Linked DNA regions of Homo sapiens: region 2 is linked to region 1. Evidence: promoter capture Hi-C in human tissues and cell types (Jung and others, 2019). All regions are on one chromosome and are shown on one strand. The core of a region is centred on a gene start or on the middle of the fragment in contact, and the rest is flanking DNA. Distances in the headings are between cores, read along the strand shown. Region 1 holds the start of SH2D4B (SH2 domain containing 4B). Region 2 overlaps NRG3 (neuregulin 3).

Region 1 (6,072 bases), core at 3,145-5,644:
ACCTGGGATGACTGAGTAAGCAGAGAGGAGTCCACAGGGTTGTGAAGTTCATAATTCCTAACACAGGATGTGCATTCCTGTGGTGGCCAAGGAGAATGAGGAGAGAACGAGCTTGCACAGGTCGTGGCCATGCTAGAGGGGTTTGACTGAAGTCTTGCTGGGACATAATGTGATAACATGCCTTCTCTGAGTCTCAATATACTCAATATACTGGACAACGAACTTTGTCAGAAACGTGATAGCACAATAAGCATGATGTTAGATTTAAAAAACCTACCAAGCTGAGGGGTCCACACCATCCACCACAGCATAGAACATCAGAGGGTTCTTGCCAAAGCGTAAAGTGAAAACAGAAAAGAAATGCCATGTGCTCAGAGGAGTGATGTGTCCAGCCGTGCCCTCATCTCCTCTCCTTCCTACCTTTCACAGTCCGCCTCTAAGCTTTCACCCAAGCTTACTTCTGTGGGTTCCAAATGTGGATCTCAGAATCAAGAAAACCTCCTAGGTTCTGTAAACGAGAATGATTCACATCACCAGTGTTTACTCGCACCCTCACCAGGCACAACTCCGGGGCTGTGAGGTTCTCAGGCACAAGGCACACCTTGTCCTGCCTGCCTGTCTGTAGGGACATGGGGAGTGTTACTTGAGCCCAAGGGATGGCAAAGCCAGGCTTGCCAGGAGCGAGGAATGTTCCCAGAAAAGAGGGGAGAGGGAAGGCTTTAGAGCACTGGGGACGATGGCCCGGAGGAGGCCCAGTGTCACTCTAGGCTGACCAGGACTAACCCACGTCATGCTCAGGGATCCCAAGGGGCCAGCAAACAGCTCAGCAGGGCTACAGCAGGTGCTTCCTTCAGAAAAAAAATGTGTAGGGAGGGGACCAGGAAAGAGGATGCCTGTCAATGAGACAAGAATAGCACTGGGTGGTCACAGGAGCATGGAAAAACCCAAACAACAGCTAAAACAAGAACAAGACAAAGAAACAACAAGATAACAGAAAACCCAAAGGAAGAGAGTAAAAACAGCTGAAATCCCACTCAGGGTGACTTGTCCATGGCTCTTCTGGGCAAACCCAAAGAAGGGAGAAAGGAGACAGTAACCCAGGGGGTTCCCTGAAATCTCCTCCTCTTCCAGAACACCTAATAATTGTTCCATCCCCTAATTAAAGAAACACCCATAAAATTAGAAACCCAGACTCTGCTGGGTGTGACACGTTCTCATGAGCACGCCCGCACTTCTCTCTCAAGTGTGTACTTTCGCTTCTCACTAACAGTTTCTTGCCTTTCCTATCATTCTGACTCATTCCCGAGTTCTTTCTCAAGACAGTTTCAAGAGCCTGGACATCAACTGGGGCTGGGGTCTCACCAGCATCTGGAGAGCCTCCTGAGTCCTCTGGCAACATCAAGGGAAGGAAGAGAAGATTCCTCCGTGGAGCCCGTCCCCGCACAATTCCCGCCCTGGGACACGGCACGGCTGCTTTGAACCAAGCCTCACCCTTGGCACTCGAGTTGGCTGTGTTCCCTATGATCCATCTACCCACCGTCTCCAGGACAAGCACTGCCCCATTCACTGAAATCAGCACATAGTAATGCTGGATAAGTGAATGAATTGGTGAATGAGTGAACAAGTGAATGTGTGCACAGCTCACTTGTTTAATTGGAGTTCCGAGTTTGGAAGTGAATGAACAGAAAAAAAATCAGTCACCAGACCCCAGATCCAAGTCATGAGATGTAGCAGCTGGATGACCTTGGATGTAGCGCATCACTTCTCTGAGCCTCACCTTCCTTATCTGCAATGAAATCAGGGAGCTTGCCCTGCCACCCCGCAGGGACACGGGAGCAGCAAGGGCTGGGTAGGCACCCAGTCAACGTAAAGCTCACAAGTTGTTGCCACCCTTCATCACGACCCCAGGACATGAAGCAGATACTGTATATCCTGGACCCTCCGGCCGAAAGCTCTTCCGGCTCCTGGGCAGGGCCAGCCCCCAGGCTCCCCAGTGGCATGCCCAGACAGTTCCAAAAGGCAGGACCGAAGCAAAGAGCCAGGATCCAAGCGGGATCCTGACCTGGGATACACACATTCCTCGGCGTGCTTTCCTGCTTTTCCATTCTTTATAAATCAGAAAATTAATTACCAGAAAAAGGATCTTCTGCACCAGAAACTCAAATGAGTTTAATGTATAATTTATACATGAAAATGTAGATGTCTATGTGTGACAAATCTCTGTATAAATATTTTTGCAGTTAAATTTTTAGGCATCTGTCTCCCTCCAAGAAGAGTCATCATGCAGGCATCATGAGTCCCCAGGGCTCAGGCCGGGTGGTGCTGGCAAGGTGGCTTGTCATTTCACCAGTTAGTGATGCAGCTGCCAGCGCAGCCCAGCCCGGAAGGCCCCAGCTTTGGCAGCAGCCACCTGCAGCCAAGTCACAGCTCTGCCCCAACCTCCCCGGCAGGGTCCTGCTGTGTCTTGTTCAAAACAAGGATTTAACACCATGTGCCACCTCTGTGCTGGGCCCAGGGGAGGAAGATAGAGTGGAGGAAGCCCTCACACACCAGTGCCTTTGAGCCCATCGGAGAGCCAGGCAAGCAGATGAGGAATGACAATGACAGGGTGGCAAATGCCAGGGCAGGCGTGGGTCCTACATGCCAGGCAGCCACAGAGGAGCAAGTACTGCCCTATGCAAGAGCATCCCTGAACACTCCAGGGCAGGGGGGCCACTCCTGATGGAGTCTGTCAGGTGGATGAAGGCAGAAGGACATTCCCAACGGTGAGAGCCACTCATGTGAAGACCAGAGACAAGAGCAAGCATGTCCAGATGATGTGGGTGTGGCCTGTGGCACCTGGTGGGGACTGGCCAGCAGTGAGCCTGGCATGGAGAAGAGCCAGATCACCAAGGGAGCTGTGTGCTCAGCCCTGAAACAGGACTTTGTTCTGGATTGAAAACTTCAAAGGGTGAAGGCACATAAGCCTTGCAAACTGTAAAGTGCATGCAGCATCCACAGAAACTACAATCCCTGGCAGGATTGAGTCCTGTGCCAAGCCAAGCCTCAGCAGCCTGCCAGTTTCTGGCCCAGGGGTCCTGGATGATTTCCTTCACCCACAGGTGTACCAGTCCATAGGATTGACTGGCACATGACTTTGCATACAAAACACCTGAAATGTAGGCTAGGCCCTTGCTTCTCATCTGCAGTTGCTACGACCATTTGGGGATGGTCATTCATTGTGTGGGACGTTCCCTGATGCCCTCTCTCCGGATGCCCAGTGGGGCTCCAGAGACAACCCACAGCATCCTCCTGCCGGAGGATCTGGAGGGAGAGGCACAGTCCACAGAAGGGGCCCTAGCCAAGAACTGGTGTGCCACGCATGCCAAGGAGAAAGGAACTGCATATCTACACCACACTCTGGCCCAGAACCAATGGCAAGGGTCACAAATATGCCGTCGTTCACCCTACCATTGCCAACCACGTCGGAGCACAATCTGAAGTCTCAATGGTGTCTTCCCAGAACTCGGGCCTTCCACAACAAGACAAAGCAAGTCCCAACTCCCCGACTCCAATAAGGGCCGCTGGACAGCCTCTGCAGCAGCCTCGAAGCCCTAAGGTCCTGGCCAAAAGGCAAAAGCACAGGCTCATGGGACCTGATGCCCACAAGACAAGGGTTTCAAGCCCCCAGCCCTCATCACCCCAGTGCCCATCTTGAAGAAGGGCACAGCCTGGCCCTGCTAATTTTTCTACCTCCTGGGGGACTGGTGGCCTACCTCTCTGTGACTCCCAGCCACGTACCTCGCTTGGTCTTTGGAGGCCTGAGACCCTCGTCCTGGGCCAGGGCCTCCCAAGTCTCCCGCTCCTTCCAGCGCCTCAGCTGCTCCTCCCGCATTTTGTAGAAGAGGATGTGCTTCTGCACATCGCTGAGCTCGGCAAGGAGCTCGGGGTCGATGTACATGTCGTGCAGGATCTGCTGCAGCATGATGCCACCTGGGATGCACGCACCAGAAGGGCAGCCAGCAGGGGAAGCAGGGCCAGGCAGAACGCCCGAGGGGCTGCTCTGCACTACGGACTGCTCAATCCGGGGCCACTCTCGGTGCCCCTTCTCTGTGCAGCATTGTCAGTTGGCCTCAGCTTGCAGCCAGCGACGAACTCATCTCCTCTACCCAGGACAGCAAAAGAGGCCAGGCAACAGGACCCAAAGGGGCAGGTGGGACTCTGCAAGGGGGAGCAACCACCAGGAGCAATCTAGTCCTTCTCCTGGGTCACCAAGCACGGCATCCCAGGAGAGCCCATGTCTTGGCATCACCTGGGGTTCTGAGACAATGGGAAGGGCCCAAGCCTCCAGCTCAGCCAGGAAATGCCCAGTCCCAGCCCTGCCTGGGCTGGTAGGTGTCGAGTGATCTGTTAGTGGAAGGTAACAATGACACCAGCTATATCAATGACACTGCCCCGGCCAGCTGGGAACTGATCTCTCCTCTGCAGATAAGAGGAGGAGAAGGAGGCAGACTTGCCTACTAAATTCCATGTCTTTTCAGCCAATTTCAAACACAGACCAGAGGAGCCTGCCAGAAGCTGCTGGGCCCCTCAGCCCTCTCAGCCCCTCTCTCTGCGGGTTCCTTCGCTGCCAACTTTCTTCCTTTCCAGAACATTTGGCATTCTGAGATGATGCGTTTAAAACTCTGCCTTGGGGGAGGAAAGATTTTTCCTCCTATCTGTGTTACAGCCAAGAAAGAAAACAAAATGGAATCAGTAGAGACAACTGGAGGGGATTTTATCTTGGAATTCCAGGACAGAAAGGAAGCAGACATCCTTTCCCTTTGGCCTATATATAATGAGATCCTGCAGCCATGCGTGGCTGACAGATAAACCCTCCAGGGGCCAGTTTTAATGGTCGTTGTTAATCTTGTTTGTTGCAGATGCCTGGAGTTGACCAAAAAGAAAGAAGATGAAACTGGCTCTTCTCTGTGCCCTGATCAGAAGCACACTGGAATGGCGGGATGTTGCCTTCTGCTGGGAGGGAAGCCACCCTCTCTTTGGTGTGTGAAGGTGGGTAGAAGCTGCCGTTGCTGAGATCTTTAGGGTGAAAGCTCACCCTAAATATGTGCTCAGAGCAAATCACAGATGCCTTCTTATTGGGACAAGGATATTGAAGCTCAGAGAAAGTAAGTGGCTTGCCTATGGCTTCCTAATGGACAAGTCACTGTATTGGGACTCCCCCGTTTTGAAATTTGACATCCACTAGCAACTATGAATCTGTTGATGGTTTGAAAACATAACCCAACCAAGGGAAAACAAACGAACCAACAGGATTTGGCACTGTGGCTTGGTTGGATTGGTGACCTTCCTGTCCCCTTCCTTGCCCATGAGGGTGGAAGGTGGATCAGGTACCCAAGAGTGATGGAAGAGGGGTGGAGAGTTGGCATTCTTCCCCCTCTGCAAGGTTAACACAACAGGAAGATGGACTAAGCAGATTCAGATGAGCTGTAAGCCCATAGGGTCAAAGCTCCTGCTCAGCTAGGCAATGTCCAGGTCACAGGAGTGGAGTCAGACGCCCCACCCCTCCCCACCCAGGTCCAGCTAGCTGGTCCCAGTGTGCCCAGACCTTCCTAGAGCCGCCACAGGACTCGCCTGTCCGCTGCAGAGCTGTGGCCCTGGACTCCCATCCACCCACCTCAGGGCTTGCACCGACTCCCCCACCGGGAGTCCTGGCTCCCCTCAGTTTCTGAGACCGGGGGTCTTCCCTAGCCTCTGCCCAGCTATTCTCTTTCTCCCCCTCGCCGTGGCTGGTGGGAGACCCCCGAGTCCAAAGAGGAGACAAGGGGAGGAAGGCCCCCAGGGTCTGGGCTCCTGCGGGCAGCTTCTTTTTGTCTTTCCCGGGCCGCCAGATACCTACGACCACAAGAGGGCACGGGGCAGGGACAACGCTGTAGGGAGCAGCAGGAATGGGCCGGCTGGAGGCGGGCGAGAACGGTGATGGTGCCACCCTGGAGGACCGTCGGGAGAGTGAGGCAGCCGGACTAGAATGACCCCCGCTAGCGCCCATTTTGTGCGATAGAGGGGATCTCGCTGGGGGCGGGGTGATCCCTG
Region 2 (6,072 bases), core at 2,500-4,999, 1.3 Mb before region 1:
TTTGTGTTATCTAGTCATTTAGAAGTAATAGAGCTCCTTAGACTTTTACAAGACTCAGCCATTTGCAGTGTATTGGAGGAAACAGCATTTCATTATTTATCATAAATTACTCAGAGCCTCTCACAATGCAAGATGAGCATCAGTGTGGTACCACAAAAGGTCATTTAGAAGCTTACAAAACTCAGTGATGAAGGAGAAACACAGATTTGGATTTGATGCTCATTTTGTTAAAACCCTGATCTACAGCTTCGCCTTCCTTTCAAAAACCTCTTCTGATCAAATACAAAAAGACCTGAACAAATAACTTTAAAAAATATATCTTTATCTAAGTCAATAAAATAGATAAACTAAAAATATTCCAAGCAAATAACACTTGTATATGTCAGCTGATGTATTATAAATGTTGACATCAGTGAAAATTACCTGATCAGTGAAAAATAGAAGAGAGATGCCATTGGCTATTAATACTAATTTAACATTTGCTCTTACACAGCGCTATAGCCCCTCTGTCTGGTAACAAGGAGCAACCAAGTAAGCCTGAGCAGGCGAGAGTGATGAACTGGATTCTTATCTGAAGGTTCTTCTTTAGGGTGAAAAACGTGGGTGACTCCACTAATTTTAGCTGCCGATATGTAAATGAACGGATGCAGTTCTCCAGTCCATGACAGGCACTCTCTGGCAGGCCGTGCAAGAGCCTCATCTTATACAGACTCCCAGCATATTCCTCACCATGTGATGAGTACAGAAAGGAATCAACAGCAGCATTCCTTTTGAATCTGATGCGATGTCAGCATTCAATTCCAAAAGGTGCTGAGTGGCTTCTGCAAAGAAGACCTCAGATGGAACCAGAAGGGTGATGTGGCAATCAATTCATAAAGGAGTTTTTGCCTCTGAAAAACCTAAAGACAGTAAGAGGTTAATTTAGGTGAGGCAGTGAAATCAAGAGTTCCTTCTTGTTATTCTTCTTGTATCTCTACTTGCAAATTTTTAGGTATTTGAAAGCTGTTATTTTGGGTTAAATCTAGGGCTTTGTTGATGCGACTATGGATAAACTAAACATCCTTAAAACATGCCAATTCTATTGCTTCTTGCAGCGCTTTGAAGAGGCATTGGAATGAAGTCAATACTTAAATATATCCAGCACAAATCAGAGACAATATCTTTAAATGATTTGGAACAAGTTAGCCTTAGAGAATCTTTAAAATTCGCTGCTCATTCCTCTCTCCAAGTCATCCTGGAAACCTCGCACCTTCTGAAAATACCACAGATATTGTATCACTTCCTTGCAACCCATTCTGACTGTGGCTTAACATAGAATCAAGCTGTGTCCTCCAAAACCCTCCCTCCTTAATCAGGCGCTGCTCCAAGGAAAAGGTGAGGCCGTCTGTCTACCAGGTCAGAACCCTCACTGGCTCCCATATAGGTGGGTACATGCAAACTTCTACCTTTATTAATGACCTTTCCCTCCCTGGGCCTCCCTTCTCTATTACTCTGCCTAAGGAAATTCTCCCTTGAAACTACCTTTCTCCCTCTAAGCACTACTTTCTGAAATGGCCTCATATGCTTTTCATTTGGAATCACACATTTCAGCACTTAATGATTCTTTGGTGCATATCTTCTGATCTTCTCAACAAAAACCACAGATGCAGATGATGAATTATCTTTCTTGTGTATATCACACTTTAATGTTTGCAGAACTGTAATAATGCCATTCTCAGGATACAAGTGGGGTTTTACATGTGTTAAGATATGTGAAAAGTGTCGCAATGTGTTATATCAGGAACACTCCTGATATGAGTGAAATAGGGTTTTATTGAATATAAATACAAGGTGTCCACTCAGAAAGGCTTACGTCAAAAGGGAATGTGGGTGTTTGCATGAAGTCTCACTAAGAGGGGATCCTGAGAACAAAGGAAAATGCTGAAGCCAGGAAGACCCTCTTTGCATCTGCTGGACTGTGAGACACCAACAACAAACTTTCAGAGCTACCATCCAGTCTCTGTACATGGAAAAACCTATAAACTCAGGCCACCACCCTGGTTGCATGAAGTGGTAAAGGCCAAAGGAATGTTCCTGAAGTTTTCTCTTATTTTTTCAAGTTAGTATTGATGTATACAAAAAGTGCACAAATCAAAAGTATAGAAGTTACTAAATTTTGATGAAGTGAACTCACTCATGTAACCAGCACCCATATCAAGCAGCACAATATTATCAATACAGGAAAACCTACACCTGGGTCCCCTTCCATTCACTACCTGCCCCTCCTCCCCAAAGATAATCACCATCTTGACTTCTAATTGTTACACAGTATATAAATAGAATCATATATTTGTTCTGGCTCTTTTGGACCAACATTGCATTTGTGAACTATTTGAAGGACTTTGAGCACAACTCATCACCAAACTTATGGGTCATGTGCCCTACAAATCACCACTCTCCTATGGACTCTGGAGTCTGTCTATGTTCCAGCCACTGAAAATTAATATAAGAATAAATATCTTATGATTCTGGGAGAGGCTTATAGCATCCAGTAAACCTTTGAACTGGTTATCCCACCCATTCATGTTTGACCAAACATCTCCTTTCTAGTACTCAGCACTGTCAATTAGCCTTTGTGTTCTCTTTTCATTTGATCCTTGGAATAGATCAGATAGTTGATTAATATGTGTATATAACTTATTGATTTCTGTTGGCTATATCCTTGTATAGCAATACTACTAAGACTGTCTAACATCTGCAGACTGGAAGAGCCATTAAGTATCTCATTAAACTCCCATCTTCTATACCCTTATAAAGTCAAGGCTAATCATCAAAGGCCCAGAGTAAGAAACTCTGCCTTCAATAAGGCATTATTTCCCATGAGCAAATGGAAATGCATTTGCACTTCTACACATCTGCATTTCACAGCAGCAACCCAACTCCATCAACATTTTAATGCTGACACCACCAATTAAGAAACAAACTCTTTAGACATAAAGAAAAAACAATCTTCACAGAACCAAGACCAATAATTGAACTGATTCATGGAGTATATTCTTTACATTTTTCAAAAGTATAACAACTTCTAATTAGAAAAAAAGATAATTCATGAACAATAACTAAAACTTAGATAATACAAAAAAGTACAATAAATTAAACAGCATCCCTATTCCAAAATCCAGAAAGAACTACCATGAACAATTTGGTATACTTCCTTTGAATACAGTTACTATATATTAAATCTAGTGACCAGTAAAGCTTAATATCATGGATATCTTATATAATTTTCTACCCAAAGTTTTAGATAAAAATTATATACCAAACATTTCCCGAAAGCTTTAAAATTAGTACAACAAAATTTAATAGCTTTGTAATATCTATCACATGGGTAAACAAAATTTATTTTACTTATTATTTTAACTTAAAACATACAAATGCACATTCACTTGCCAAATATTTGGTTATAGAGCTCAAGGCTTTTCTCTGAGTAAACATCTGTTGTCCTTCTTATGAAAAACCATACCCATAATGTATAATGTGATTTTTCCAGTTTAGTTTATTGTGGAATAAAATCTTAACATGTGAAACAATACAAGTGCAAATTTCTTATGGATATATAAATATATTCTCGTTAAACTTCTCACAACTTTGTCAAGTAGAAGAAGCACTTTTTTTAAAGTGACTTATGTTTATGGATTATATCCAATGTAATGAACTTCGTTTTAATAGAAACCACAATTCACAGATTTATAGAATACTTAAATGCATTACCCAATTACAGTAACAAAAACAATCAGCATAAACAGGTTTGGGAGCTAATATAACTAATACCTGTTAACCAAGGCAGCTTTCATTTGGTTAAGACAGAAGTGCTACCAACTGTACCTGCTCGGCATGGAGTGGGCATTTGTCAGAAGTTTTTGTTTTTGTTTTTTAATTTTATTTAAGTTCTGGGATACATGTGCAGGACGTACAGATTTGTTACATAGGTAAACGTGTGCCATGGTGGTTTGCTGCACCTATCAACCCATCACCTATGTATTAAGCCCCGCGTGCATTAGCTATTTATCCTGATGCTCTACCTCCCCCACACCCGAAATGTGTTAGTTTTTTAATCCAGAAACAGAGAGTATCATACTGAAAAGTCAATGAAATAGAATTCAGTCAAGCTATCATTTAATATAAACATTTCTACAGCCCATTTTTTAAAAAATTCTGGTGTCTCTAGATTTTTCCACCATGCTGAAAAAAGCTTTGGTCTAACAATAAATTTGGGCAAACAACCCCAGTGGCCCCCCTCATAGACTAACAATGAGCACAACTGTCATTGTTAGTTTATGGGATTCATTTACAGTCTTACAGGATGTTGACAATACAATCTTTCTGACACTACAGTATTCCTATCCTTCAGCATGGCTATTCAAATGAGTGTCACGTGATCTTAGAACTTGATCTATTTCCATTTTATTTTTATAAGTTTGTAAAAGTAACAATCTCAACTATCTTTTACTTTAACCAAAAGAGAATTTTTTTCTTCTAGCTAAAAGAACACTTGGCAAACAAAAATGTCAAGCAAGTAAGCAATGATTGGGTCTAGTTTGTAGTACCCCCGGCAGAATATCAAGGTCTCACCAATGTTCCCCTTCTTAGAACTGGTAGATAATCAGTGATGGGTACTTCGCAGTGTGGCTCCAAGATGGAATTCAGATGTTCTGCAGCAGGCATTGCATGCAGCTCCAACTCCCATCATTGATTTGGTAGAGTCAGTACTTTAGTGTCTACAGAACTAAAAGGCTATCATTCCAAATGTTCCCTGACACTTTTCCATTGATCAGTCTCAGCATACACTGCAGTCACTATTGTAACCAAAAGTAAGCTTGGAATGGGCAGAGAAGGCAATTTTGACTGGATTTTAGGAAGCAGAGGAATAAAGTCTGTAACTGTTTTCTGTCATTGTTACATTGAATCACCTACAAGCAGCCATAAGAGAAAATAGAGAGTTAAAAAGATCAAGGAACAGAAGTTTAGAGGTAGGGAACTGTTGCTCAATGGGTACAAAGATTTAGTTATGCAAGAGGAATAAGTTCTAGAGATCCGTTGTACAACATAGTACTTAGTTAACAATATAATACTGCATACTTAAAAAAGAAGATAGATTTCATGTTAAATGTTCTACCTAAACAAAATTAAAACCACAAGAGAACACAAGGAAATTTTTGGAGGTGATGGATATGTTTAGTACCCTGACTGTGGTGACAGCATTAATAGGTATATGCATGTCCAAACTCATCGATATGTACACATTAAATATGTACAATTTTTTGTACAGTCATCCTTTGGTATTCCAGGGGGGAATAGTTCCAGGATTCCTCTCCCCCAGGATATCAAAATCCTAGGATGCCCATGTCTTTTACATAAAATGGCCTGGTATTTGCATATAACCTAAGGATAGCCTCCCATATAGTTTCAGTCATCACTAGAGAACTTACAAGCAGTGTAAATGCTATGTAAATAGTTGTTATACTATACTTGTTTCTTATTTGTATTTTTAATTGTTGTGTTGTTGTTTTTATTTTTAAATATATTTTTGATCCCTGGTTGCTTAAATCCACAGATGCAGAACCCAAGGATGTGTATGGAGAGCACATTGCATATCAATTACATATCAACAAAACTTAAAAAATAAACAAGAAGACAACATTCAGAACAACATATTCTTTATCTTTTACCGAAACATCTGAATTTCTCCTTAGACAGAAAACCCAGGCAATTTCTCTAGTTAGATTCCTCCATATCAGAGCAAAGAACAGGTACAGTGCAGGTGAGCTATTTATGGAGTTTACAGTGGCAAATGCCACTATCTGTGTGTGAAGTGCTTGACAGAAGCAATGTACAAATGGATATAGTGACACTATAACAGTGAATTAGGTAAGTAAGACTGAGGTGGGGAGAGATTACCTGTAAAACACTCCTCCAGTCTTCTTGATTATCCAAACAATTTCTGCAAGTCCTAGGCAAATTATATATCCTAAGCCCAGCTTGATTAACTCTATCAGTGAGATAATCAAACCTAGGCTGCAGGCCTAGATATGA

The links. Contacts are between HindIII fragments. The study calls those that stand out against the background at their distance.
Region 2: a fragment that was not itself captured here is called in contact with the fragment with the promoter of SH2D4B in region 1 in 1 of the 25 tissues and cell types used here (dorsolateral prefrontal cortex).

Annotation. Positions count from the first base shown.
Region 1 is chr10:80,536,224-80,542,295 of GRCh38, reverse strand. SH2D4B (SH2 domain containing 4B) reads right to left here and starts at 4,394. Exons shown (of 8, transcript NM_001388272.1): 1 at 3,781-4,394. The coding sequence starts at 3,964. RefSeq lists enhancers at 834-953, 1,124-1,183, 1,334-1,513, 2,551-2,690, 5,997-6,072. The HindIII fragment of the contact is 9,237 bases long and covers 185-6,072 here.
Region 2 is chr10:81,884,017-81,890,088 of GRCh38, reverse strand. The region is part of intron 1 of NRG3 (neuregulin 3); the gene reads right to left. Among named protein-coding and RNA genes, the nearest start is that of NRG3, 12 kb to the right of the region's middle. The HindIII fragment of the contact is 4,089 bases long and covers 1,705-5,793 here.